Linked DNA regions of Homo sapiens: region 1 is linked to region 2. The links are contacts of gene promoters, found by promoter capture Hi-C in blood cells and fetal thymus (Javierre and others, 2016). All regions are on one chromosome and are shown on one strand. Each heading gives the region's core, a stretch centred on a gene start or on the middle of the fragment in contact. The rest is flanking DNA. Distances are from core to core; before and after follow the strand shown. Region 1 has its middle 3.2 kb from the start of DCUN1D4. Region 2 holds the start of AASDH (aminoadipate-semialdehyde dehydrogenase).

Region 1 (2,931 bases), core at 322-2,821, 4.5 Mb after region 2:
CAGTGATGGGTAGGTACCTCTGGACTCTGAGATAGGGGATTGCTTGTTGGGCAGATCTAGCAGTAAGAATATCCGCCCTTACTCTGAGCAGGGAAGCTGCTCCTGCATTCTTTATTCTATTTATGTTTCAGCTTAATCTACATCTAGGAAATAATAAATTATATGTCATTTAATACAAGTTTCAAATCTTTTGTGTGTGTAATATTTATGATTTTTTTTTTTACCGTTTACCATGGTACTTCAAAGACTGAGACACATGTTATTTTGCACAGAAAAGGGCTTCCTTCGTGACACCTCTAAATTACAATAAGCCCACAATTAATTATAGCTAGTCATTTGCTCTATTAATTTATTTGCAGCATACTTTATAATAATGTGTATAAGAGTTAAGCTAGATGAAGGATGGGTCGGCTGCTTTGCCCCAGCTCCCAACACTGGCCTGGCATATGCATGGTGTCCATAAAAATTTATAGAATGTACAACCTCTGTTATTTCTCAACATTGCTTTCAGTTGAGTCAGTATGATTATTTTCAAGTAGAAAACAGACTTAGAGGTAATTTACCCAGATCTTTATAAAGAGTCAGCTATAGCCTAAGGATTGAGAGGCAAAGCTCATTCCTAGTCGGCTGACCCTCACTGCCCCCACGTTTTACAAAGTATAATAAAATGACTACATAATGCTCTGCAAATATTACCTGGTCATTTAAATAATCCACACCATATAAACCTCTGATATCAGGAAACTTGTTATAGTTATCTTTTTACTTGCCTAGCACCTAGTACAATGCTTTCAAATATTGTGGTAGGCACTGGTTAACCATACCCCTTAAAATGAATGTTTACCGTACATGAAATTTTAGATCTGGATAGGAACCTTGGTGATTATCAAATCCAACATCTTCATTTTAAAAATAAGAGACTTGACATCCAAAGGAGTTAAATGTTTAATCTGAGTCACTTGGCTAGTTGATAACAAAACAGGGCTTAAATTCAGGTTTCTCAACTCTATCCCCTGTACCACACTGTCTAATATCAAAGCTTCAAATTCCAAAGATAGGTAAACTACTCTCCCTTCCCATCTGAAAGTTACTATGCCAATCTAATACAAGTCTGCTTCATGGTTGAAATGTTGCCTTCTTTTTTATGTATTTCATTCAGGATTTTTTTCAATATGTAAATCAATACTTCACTTTTTTTTTTCTCATTTGTAGTATTCCCAAAGAACATGATCCCCATGGAGAGGTTTACTGAGATAATAATGTTATACTTCTGTACATTTATATTTGAATCCCTGGAGAAAAAAATTAATAATTGAATATCTTGGGACTGTGATGGGTAGAGATATTTGGAGATGCAGTCTTTATGCCATTTCATTTCACCCAGTTACTGCTTTAAGGTAATATTGAAGCAAGTTACTCCATGTTAATGATACCTAATTTAATTGGAATTTTTCTATTTTATTAGTCATACAATATTAATTTTAATCAGATATATTTTGAAATGCCCTAAGCCTAGATTAGAATGTGATATGGAGAAGTCTAGTAAGAGAAAAAAAACAGCAGAGCTCTTCAATCAAATGTTACGCTTTCCCCTAAATTCTGCTAAGCCCACTGTAGCATGCTTTTCCTGCATGTGTTGGGATTGGGAGTAGGAGGAAGAATAGCATAGTTCTTGAGACTGAAAATAAGTTGGGCCTGCACAGACAGATAAATGTGTCCCTGGTAAGATTTAAAGAGAATAAGAAAGAACACAGGACAGAGAGGAATTAATTTGGCCTTAGATTACAGTGAGAGAGTTGGCAGAACTCCTTTAGTAATAAAATGTCAGGCTAGGTGGGTTTCTAGTATTTGGAAATGAAAATAAACCCCCTCCGAAAGGAGAATTTATCCATAGAGGGCAGGATAGTTTTCTTTCTCCAAATATGACCAACTGAATTTGCTGTCCCAAGTGATAACAACTTCTTTCTTAATGCTTCCTATGTGACGGGCACTACTCTAATAGTACTGTACTGGTAAACTAATCTACTTAACTTCACAACAACACAGTGGAGTACTAATAACTAATAGTATCCCCAATCTACAGGTAAGTTAACTGAAGCTTCAAGAGCTTCGGTAACTTGCCACCCAGCTAATAAGTAAACGTGCCCCTAAGTAGCCAGACTCCATGTTTTTAATATTCCTGTGTTGGGCTTTAGTTTCTTTCTTTCTTTCTTCCTTTCCTTCTTTTCTTTCTTTCTTTCTTTCCTTCCCTCCTTCCTTCCTTCCTTCCTTCCTTCTCCTTTCTTCCTTCCTTCCTTCTCCTTCCTTCCTTCCTTCCTTCCCTCCCTCATTCCCTCCTTCTCTCCTTCCCTTCTTCCTTCCTTTTCTCTCTCTCTCTCTGTCTCTTTTGAGACGGAGTCTCACTCTGTCGCCCAGGCTGGAGTGCAGTGGTGGGATCTCCATTCACGGCAACCTCTGCCTCCTGGGTTCAAGTGATTCTCCTGCCTCAGCCTCTCAAGTAGCTGGGATTACAGGCACACGCCACCACACCCGACTAATTGTTGTGTTTTTAGTAGAGACGGGGTTTTGCCATGTTGGCCAGGATGGTCTCAAACTCCTGACCTCAGGTGATCTGCCCGCCTCAGTTCCCAAAGTGCTGAGATTACAGGCATGAGCCACCGCACCTGGCCAGTTCCTTCTCTTTTTAATCAGGTTAATATATGCCCCTATATACCTCAGAGATTATTTATAAGGATACAATAATATGGTTGTTAACATGCTCTCAAAAGATAGTGAAATCAGGCTGGGCATGGTGGCTCATGCCTGAAACCCCAGCACTTTCGGAGGCTGAGGTGGGTGGATCACTTGAGCCCAAGAGTTTGATACCAGTCTGGGCCAACACAGGGAGACCCTATCTCTACAAAAAAATGCAAAATTATCTGGGTGTGGTGG
Region 2 (2,896 bases), core at 187-2,686:
ACAAAATCAACAGAAGAAAAAAAAAGGAAACTTGAGGGAAATAGATACTGCAAGGGAAGAAAAACTTTAAAAAAGGTATCATTAATATCAGAGAGTTGGATGATGATACTGGAATAATAAAACATCATTTTGGCAGCAATTCAGAGTCAATCAGAGGCAAACAAAACTGAAAACGTTTTAGGAAAAAGCTGACCAAGAAGACCTGAACTAAAGTAGCAGTAATGGCGATGAACATGACACTTAAAAAACGCAGGTTCTAGGCCCCTCACTAGAAAACTAGGGGATGAACCTCCGGGGATGGAGTCCAGGAATTTGGAATCTTCTAAAACATCACCACCGGCAATTCTGATGTAGCCAGCTGGGTGCTGGTCTCAAGACTGAGAACTAGAGGACATAGGGTCTAATCGGATGTAAGAGGTTAAGAAAGTGGGAAGGTTGATAACTGTCTGGCTGGGTGGATGATGGTGTCATCCCAACGTAGAAACATAGAAACATAGACAAGATACACTTTTGCCCACTTCCAACCTAAATACATAAATAAGGCTGTGTTAGTTTGAGTAGTCCATGGTACATCTTGGAAAAGTATAGTTGGCATGTGGAGATATTTTTTGCTTAGATTAGAAGCACAGTTTCTTGTCACCAACAACTACGGCTGCGAGAGCGTCCTATGCTTTTTTCTCACGTACTGTTTTGATGCAGAGCTGTCTTCGCAGTCCCTCCCCCGGCTAAAACCCCCCAAACAAAAAAATCCCGATTATTCTGCCACCAGACAGTAGCTTTAAAACACCTCTGTTATTGCCCTTGACGCTTATTGTAATAATTGACATGTCTCCAACTGTAACAATTCCCTTGGAAACAGAAAGTTCTATTCAGGCATATAGTTTACAAAACTCCACCTCGGACCTGCTTTAATTTCTTTACAGGTCCTACTAAATGCTCCTGTCAAATTCCTTAGTTATCGTTTCAATCTGCTTCCCAATTAAAATGTCAGCATCATGATGACAGGAACGTCGTTTGCAGGCGTCACTGCTGCAGCCATATCTCCAGCACGTTTCCAGAAAATGTCATTGGTTGAAAGCAATAACTCTCCTATTTCACAATGATTTCATCTCTCTTCACATCAACCCTAGGTGATGTTTTTATTCTCACCTTATGAACGAGAATACTGCGGCTCAAAATTCAAGAGTCTTGCCCAGAGTTTTTTGGCAAGTACGAAAGGGTTATGGCTCCAAACTGGTTAGCTCCGAAGTCCTTGCAAACCCTGTCCGAGACCATGCGCGACCCCAAGGAGCGCCTGAGCAGATAACCAAAAGTGAAAAAGCCTATAGACCTCTTCACTCAAGTTAGCGCCTCGGCTTCAGGAGAGGCAGCGCCAGCTCCACGCAGCCGGCCCGGGGTCGCTCGCACTGACGTCACGTAGCGACGCGGAAGATTTACGTATGGTGCCTCGCTCTGGGATAGCTTTACGGCTTCTGGGAGCTGCTGCTTCGCTGTGAGAAGTATCCGCGACGAGCTATCCGGGAAAGGGCCGAATGCGATCAAACCTAATCCGCGAGACTTGCTAAGTGAGTCGCGGCAGGGCGCGGTGTCCGGCGGGGGTCTGTGTGAAGGAGGCGAAGTGCCGCTAGGCCTGAGCCTGCTTCCACATACATTTGCTCAGCTTCAGGACCACTGCCTGACCTCGGATTTGATACATCGGGGTCTGGCGTGCTGGTGTGGTGCAGACTAACCCTGACCTGTGTGTACACTCCTGCGTCACTAGCCTCCGCCCCTCCATTCAAATGGAAATAAGTGTGCTCCGCGCTCAGCTACCCCCTAGAGTGGTTTCGAAGAGCAATGAAGAAATGTTTAGGAAGCTGTAAATTGCATTGTTACTCGTTGCATACCGTAAATTTAGAAGCCGGGGAATTGGGAAAATAAAGTTTCTAGATTATTTATCCATTTTTAAAACAGCCAGTGGCCTAGAGAGAGGCCCCATAGCAATTGAATTTGCTGACACTCTTAAGATCTTTGTTGACTAAATAGCAGCTTCTACAGTTGTAGCAAGTAAATTTATTCCTTTTACATGTAAAATCTGCTTACCAGAGTTTGCTTTTTTTTTTCCTTTTTTTTTTTTTTTTTTTTTTTGAGACGGAGTCTCGCTCTGTCGCCCAGGCCGGACTGCGGACTGCAGTGGCGCAATCTCGGCTCACTGCAAGCTCCGCTTCCCGGGTTGACGCCATTCTCCTGCCTCAGCCTCCCGAGTAGCTGGGACTACAGGCGCCCGCCACCGCGCCCGGCTAATTTTTTGTATTTTTAGTAGAGACGGGGTTTCACCTTGTTAGCCAGGATGGTCTCGATCTCCTGACCTCATGATCCACCCGCCTCGGCCTCCCAAAGTGCTGGGATTACAGGCGTGAGCCACCGCGCCCGGCCTTTTTTTCCTTTTTAAGGTCTCAAACATTTGGGCATTAATAAGTTTAGTATTCTCTACTGCAGAGAATGTTATTTGTGATTCAATGAATGAAAATGAAAACCTGAGACAAGAAGAATGGATTTTACCTTAAATGTCTGTAGCAACCATTGGGAAAATGGAAAGAAACATCTTAATTATCGTATAGATGTGTAGGTACCCTTCTGCGCTACCTGTATGTTGCGAAATGAACTCATTCCTCATAATTTAAGCGCCTGCTGCAGAAAGCCTCCCTTATATTTACATAATGATCATTGTATGTCTGAGGAAAGCTTAAAATTGTATCTTGTGCATTAAAAAGAGCTAATATTTATAGAAATGCCTACTAAAAATAAATAATGTAAGTACTAAAGTTGCCTTATATGTTTAAACTGTATATTTAGAAATCACAGCATTTTCAAACTTATGGGTCTTGGCAGTTATTGGTTCATTTTACTCTCTTTA

What was found. Contacts are between HindIII fragments. The CHiCAGO score rates a contact against its expected background, and 5 or more counts as called.
Region 1: a contact is called between a fragment that was not itself captured here and the fragment with the promoter of AASDH in region 2, in 2 of 17 cell types (non-activated CD4 T cells and total CD8 T cells). The highest score is 7.4, in non-activated CD4 T cells.

The regions. Positions count from the first base shown.
Region 1 is chr4:51,838,532-51,841,462 of GRCh38, reverse strand. It overlaps a transcript of DCUN1D4 not described here. Among named protein-coding and RNA genes, the nearest start is that of DCUN1D4, 3.2 kb to the left of the region's middle. The HindIII fragment of the contact is 1,059 bases long and covers 1,042-2,100 here.
Region 2 is chr4:56,386,031-56,388,926 of GRCh38, reverse strand. It overlaps AASDH (aminoadipate-semialdehyde dehydrogenase), which reads left to right and starts at 1,436. Exons shown (of 15, transcript NM_181806.4): 1 at 1,436-1,565. RefSeq lists enhancers at 1,092-1,141, 1,004-1,510, 1,172-1,541, 1,511-2,018. The HindIII fragment of the contact is 3,410 bases long and covers 1-2,726 here.